2 separate regions of the Homo sapiens genome follow, and region 1 is linked to region 2. Evidence: promoter capture Hi-C in human tissues and cell types (Jung and others, 2019). All regions are on one chromosome and are shown on one strand. Each heading gives the region's core, a stretch centred on a gene start or on the middle of the fragment in contact. The rest is flanking DNA. Distances are from core to core; before and after follow the strand shown.

Evidence for each region. Contacts are between HindIII fragments. The study calls those that stand out against the background at their distance.
Region 1: the fragment with the promoter of UNC5B here is called in contact with the fragment with the promoter of EIF4EBP2 in region 2 in 2 of the 25 tissues and cell types used here (heart right ventricle and liver).

What each region holds. Positions count from the first base shown.
Region 1 is chr10:71,211,079-71,214,008 of GRCh38, forward strand. It overlaps UNC5B (unc-5 netrin receptor B), which reads left to right and starts at 1,492. Exons shown (of 17, transcript NM_170744.5): 1 at 1,492-1,986. The coding sequence starts at 1,908. RefSeq lists an enhancer at 1,254-1,548 and a silencer at 1,393-1,652. The HindIII fragment of the contact is 13,648 bases long and covers 1-2,930 here.
Region 2 is chr10:70,402,821-70,405,629 of GRCh38, forward strand. It overlaps EIF4EBP2 (eukaryotic translation initiation factor 4E binding protein 2), which reads left to right and starts at 1,325. Exons shown (of 3, transcript NM_004096.5): 1 at 1,325-1,726. The coding sequence starts at 1,582. RefSeq lists silencers at 1,197-1,386, 1,417-1,626. The HindIII fragment of the contact is 23,735 bases long and covers 1-2,809 here.

The DNA of each region.
Region 1 (2,930 bases), core at 242-2,741, 810 kb after region 2:
TAAGCAACCTACCTTTGCCCACAGCAGCCTTTCTCAATTGATGGAAGTTCTTCCCCCAGGGAGTCCCAGTCCACCTGTTGCCACCCTCCTGATGCTGGGTGCCCAGTCAGAGAGGGTTAGGGAGATGTGCTGATGGCATGCACGACCTCCCCTAGATACTCCAAGACCCCGGCTTGTGAGGGGAGTGTGTGTGGAGAGGGTACTAGTCCTGCCTTCACCTCACCTCTGGGGAAACAGCTAGGACAGTCCCCTTCGCACAGCCCAATCCAGCCCCAGGGAAGGTGTTCAAGTGAGGCTCCCCCGTTTAGAGGGTTTCTTTCCAATCCCATCTCCCCCATCCCCTTTGCTCAGTCACTCAGTCACTCCAAGCAGTGTGATCTCCGGCAGGTGGCTTTACACCTCTGTGCCTCAGGTCCTTCATCTGTAAAATGGGATGTAAATGGTGCTTACTTCAGAGGGTTGTGAGAATTAACTGACATGATGCATACAGAGTGCTTAGCCCTGTGCCTGGCACAGGGAAGGTCTTTGCCTATGTTAGCTGATCCGCTCGTTCTGATCTCTCTGGGTTTCAATCCCAAGACACTGCCCATCCTTCAAACCTCACCTGTCCCCACGTGCTCCTTGGACCACCTTTGGGTGGTCAGGACTTTCCCCCTGGAATCAGACTGGCTGGGAGGGGAGAATCTTGGAAAGAGATTATTGACACTTGCACTGCAATTTCCACACAAGTTTTAAAATTTAATTCTATACCCCCTTATGAAATAGTTATCCTTTTCCTCCATTTTACAGATGATGATGAAGGGAGCAATAGAATTGTTAAGTAACTTGTTCAAGGTCACACAGTAAATAAGGGGCAGAGTCCAAGTTTACACTGAGCCAAAAATGGCTGTCCCACTGTCAGGTAGGAGGCTAGTTTACAACAACGCAGGATCAGAGTGCTGGAGGGGTTTCCAGGGGTCTGGTTAACAGTTCTGCCGGAGATCATACAGACAAGCAGAGCCAGCCAGGATGATCCTAATCTATACCCAGCTTCATATCGCTGTAAGCCCCCGCGTAACCAGGACTTGGGTGTTCTCATTTTGGGAGCCTTTTTTTTGGAAAGACCCCCACATGTGGAAGGCAGAGCGCATACTACAGACAGGGGAGCCAAAAGTGAGAGTCCTATGTTTAATCAGAGGAGAAAGCTGACATGGCCAAGCCAAATGAAGGCGCAAAGCCAGATTTCCTTAATTTGGGGGAGCGAAAATTGGGCCGCCTCCACGTCCAGCCATTCTCCAGCGGCCGGGTTTTTCAAAACGCTGCGCCCAGCGTCTCGCGAGGACCCTCCCCCCGGGTCCCCCAGCTCTGCCGCGGCCGCGCCCAGATGGCCGTCGGATCCCCCCTCAAGGTCCCCCTGTCGGCTCCGCCCTCGGTCGCCCAGGCCCCGCCCCGGCCGCGCGCGGTCCCCTCGGTTGGCGAACTCACTCCGGCGAGCGAGCGGCGGCGCTCGGCATTGTGGCAGGCGGCTGGGGCCGGCTAGGGCGCCGGAGCCGCACGCAGCCGCGGGGCTCCGAGAGGCGCGCACTGGGGCTGGGACTGCGCGGCGCCGCCGCTGCGAGCGCCACTGAGCGGTCGCGCAACTTCGGAGGCACAGCGCCGGAGCCAGGCGAGCGCTCAGAGACCCGGAGCCAGAGGGGCGCGCCGGAGCCTCGTTCGAGAGCCGGCGCCAGGCACCCACCGCGCTCCGAGTGCCAGGCGGCCCTCCGCGCAGCGTGGCTTCCGCTGCCCCCACGGAAGGCACGGGCTGGCGCTGCCGGGCGCCGGGGAGGACGGCGAGGAGGAGGCGGCGGCGGCGGAGACGGCGGCGGCGAGACTGGGGCCAGGGAGACAGCCCTGGGGGAGAGGCGCCCGAACCAGGCCGCGGGAGCATGGGGGCCCGGAGCGGAGCTCGGGGCGCGCTGCTGCTGGCACTGCTGCTCTGCTGGGACCCGAGGCTGAGCCAAGCAGGTAGGAAGCGATCGGGTCTGGGGGCGCGGGGCTAGGGGACCCTTGCGCCTCACTCTGTCCTGAAGTTGAGGTGGTCTTTCGTCGCATCGATGCGCGCAGGAAAAGCGGCAAGGGCGCCCAAGTTAGAATGTAGATTTTACTGCCTCCCAAAGTGGGCAATGGCGCATCCACATCGCGGGAGCGGGGAGCAGGGAAGGGGCTTCACAGTAAGCTGAAAGGTCCCTGCTCGCTCCTGAAAGGGATCCCTTCTTCTCCCTGGAAGGGGTGTAGGAGTCAGGGTCTGAGTCTCCGGGAGGATCCGCCTCCTGGGGACGCCCGGCTCTCCGCGCGCCTGGCATCCGCCCCGAAAAAGAACATTGGCTACATAAGCAAGGTGTGCGCTCGCTGCCGTACGCCGGTAACTTACTAGTCTGGTCCCGGCTCGCCTAGGCTCTTACGCGCTATAGGGACAGCAATCTGCAGACTAGAGGGAGAGAGCGAAAAGACCTGCTGAACACAGGAAGCGCTTCGGTAGCCTCGGCAGGCCGGCTTGCAGGGCTCCTGAAGCGGGGAGGGCTAAGTCTTGCACACATAGCTTTCCCCGAGATCGCTGGGCCCGCAGGTCTGGAAGAATTATTATTATTATTATTATTATTATTATTATTAATTTTCTGAGTGTTGGAGAGTGTGTGTGTGTGTGTGTGTGTGTGTGTGTGTGTTGGATGCGGGTAGGGGTTCTTAGCGATCCTGCGGAGTTTCCTTTTAAATTGGTCACTGACATTCTCGCTGTCCGGGGAACAGACTAGGTGCGCTCTCCTTGGTACAGCGCCCGCTCTGGACCCACCAAGATGACTTCAGCGAACTGGTGGGCTCCGAAATAAAGTCCCTAACCCTCCTCTCTCGCCGTGGATGAATACGTTTCTCGCTCGTCCTGTAGCTGGACCCGGCGTCGCTGGCTGGGCTGC
Region 2 (2,809 bases), core at 75-2,574:
CTCTTACCCTTATTTCTCTCATTTGCAAAATGGGAATGATGGTAGCTATGTTGGCCTTACCCATGAGTGTCTTCCCAGTCCCACCTTGGGCATGTTGTGGGCAGAAGTAGTGCTGCCCTAGTGCAGCGGTTCTCAAAGTGTGATCTGGAGAGCCCCTCGGGGATCTGAGACAACCTTCTTTTCTAACTACATACCTGTGTGAGGCTGGGTTTTCTTCATATAGTTGAATCAACACATTACAACAGCTTGAACACAGAAACAGATATGAGAATACAGCTGTTTTCTATTAAGCCAGATATTAAAGCGTTTGCAAAAATATAAAATAATGCCACTGTTCTCACTATTTGTTTTAGATAATTAAAAAATATAATGTCAACATGTAATAGGTTATTATTTTATGAATTAATAAACATTTAAAACATTCTCAGTTTTAATTTGTTTTTTGTTGTTGTTGTTGTTGTTGTTTTTTAGAGACAGGGCCTCACTCTGTTGCCCAGGCCGGAATGCAGTGGCTATTCACAGGTACAATCCCACTAGTGATCAGCAGCGGCTCAGTTTTAATTTCTAATACAATAATTATCAATACATATAATCCACACAAACAAAAGCTCTTGGAAATCCTCAATAATTTTCAAGAATGTAGAGGTACTGAGACCCAAAGTTTGAGAACCCCTCGAGGAAAGAATAGAGTTCCAGATCTAGATTTTTCAGGTACCTCATGGTCTAAGCCCTCTCCTGTGCCTCATTTTAACTCTAATACAATAATACTCATTCTTGTTGCCATGAGTGGCTCTTGGTTTCTTCCTTTTCCTAATGTTTAGATCTTGCTTTATGTGTGTATATAGTGATGGTCTTTGGAAGGATACACAATTAACTGGTACAGCGGTTGAGGGGAGTTCGGAAACTGGGAGAAAGTGGCACCATAAACCTTTCTGCTCTGTTTGATTTTTAAAATACAGTACATCGTGCATGTAGTGCCTGAATTAATAATGAACAATTAAAAGTAAAATTACATTTTTAATGCATAGGAATGCATGAGAAACTCAAGTCTGCTCAAGTAAAGTGGTGTTAACCGACAATGACAAACAATAAGAAGAAAGTTTTCCTTGTCCGCCTTCACCAGGCTCACAAACACTTAGCTCGCGCTCCCTCTGGCTCTTCTCCCGCTCGCTGGGGTTAAGCCACTCTCTTCCTCAGCCCTGCCCCTCGTCCCCGCCCCCTTCAACAACTTCAGCCACGCCCCTCACTGCCTCGCCCCGCCCCGCGGCGACGTCACCTCCGGCCGACCAGCTTCCCCAACTCCCTCTGGCTCCCGCCTTCGCCCGCTTCCGGTCGTCGTCGTCGCCGCTGCTGCCGCTGCTGTTGCTCCTGAGGCTGCTGGCTGAGGCCGGAGGATCGAGCGGCGGCGGCGGCGGCGGCTGAGAGGGCGGCGGCGGGAGCGGAGCGGGACGAGGGAACGGGAGGAAGCGAGCGAGGAGCGCGCAGAGCGCGCTTTTCCGTCCGCCTGAGGAGCCGAAGCAGCCCCGGCCCCGCCGCCGCCGCCTGCCCGCCGGACAAAGCCGAGAGCCCGCGCCCACAGCCATGTCCTCGTCAGCCGGCAGCGGCCACCAGCCCAGCCAGAGCCGCGCCATCCCCACCCGCACCGTGGCCATCAGCGACGCCGCGCAGCTACCTCATGACTATTGCACCACGCCCGGGGGGACGCTCTTCTCCACCACACCGGGAGGTGAGCGCCGGCCAGCCGTCCGCCGCGCCCGGTGTCCCGCCGCGGTCCTCTAACTCCTCGGCGCCTCGGTGCCCGGCCGCTTCGCCCCCGCCCCCAGCTCCACCGAAGCCCCGGGGACGCTGCCCTTGGGCCCGCCCGAGCGTTCGGGACCCTTTACTTCGTGTTCGCTCTTGCCCGCAGCTCGAGTCGGCGCGCGCCCCACTCGGGAATGTGGCTGTCCTGTCGCGAAAAAGAGCTCTTGTTTCCGCTTCGTGGCAGGCTTACGCATTCGACCCAGTTCTCTCTCTCCTCTCTGCCTCCTTCCCGGGCGGATTTGGCTCCACTTGGCCTTGCATTACAGTCTGCATTGCCTGTCGTAGATTGTGCAAATTAATGCTTGATTTTGGAGCTGGCTCCGGGGCTTTTTAAAAAAGAACTTTGGGAGAGGAATTCGGCCCTGGCATCCTGCGATGGCTTGTTTTTGCTGCTTTTAGAACACCGGGAGGAGGCTGGAATGCGGAGTCTGGAAGCCTCGCCCAGCGTTATCCCGCTTTGACAGCATTGTTTACTTTGCTGGACGAGGCCCCACGGGTGAGGGGAGTCCCCAGGCCGGGAGGAGAGCGTGATAAAATAAAGCTCAAGTAATAGCCAAGGGAAAGTAGGTGGGGGTGGTAGGGTGCTGACAGCCTTAAGGTAGGGTGTCTTTCGGCAGCGACGCCTTTGGAAATGGATTGAAGGACCTTTGTCAAGGACACCCCAGTTGGGTGGGGTGGTTGCTTGATCCTGTGGAAGGGGCTAGAGAGAGGCAATCCAGAGAGAGGGTGGTTCCCTGGCATTGCTTTTCAAAGCATGACCAGGAACTGTTTACAAATAAGTAATACTGGGGTAGAGGTGAAGCTTGGTCACGGGAAGAGAGCTCAAAGGTTGTCTGTGCCCTAACTGGGCTGTCCTCCAGAGGGAGGAGCCTGGAAAGCGATTTTGAGGAGCCTTATTGAAGGGAACGGGGCCTCCTTTTTAACTTCAGAACTTTGTCTTCTTTTGGTGCTGGGGTGGCCTCTTGCTAGAGGGTGGGGACTTCGCAGCTCCTGCGGTCTAGAGGATTGC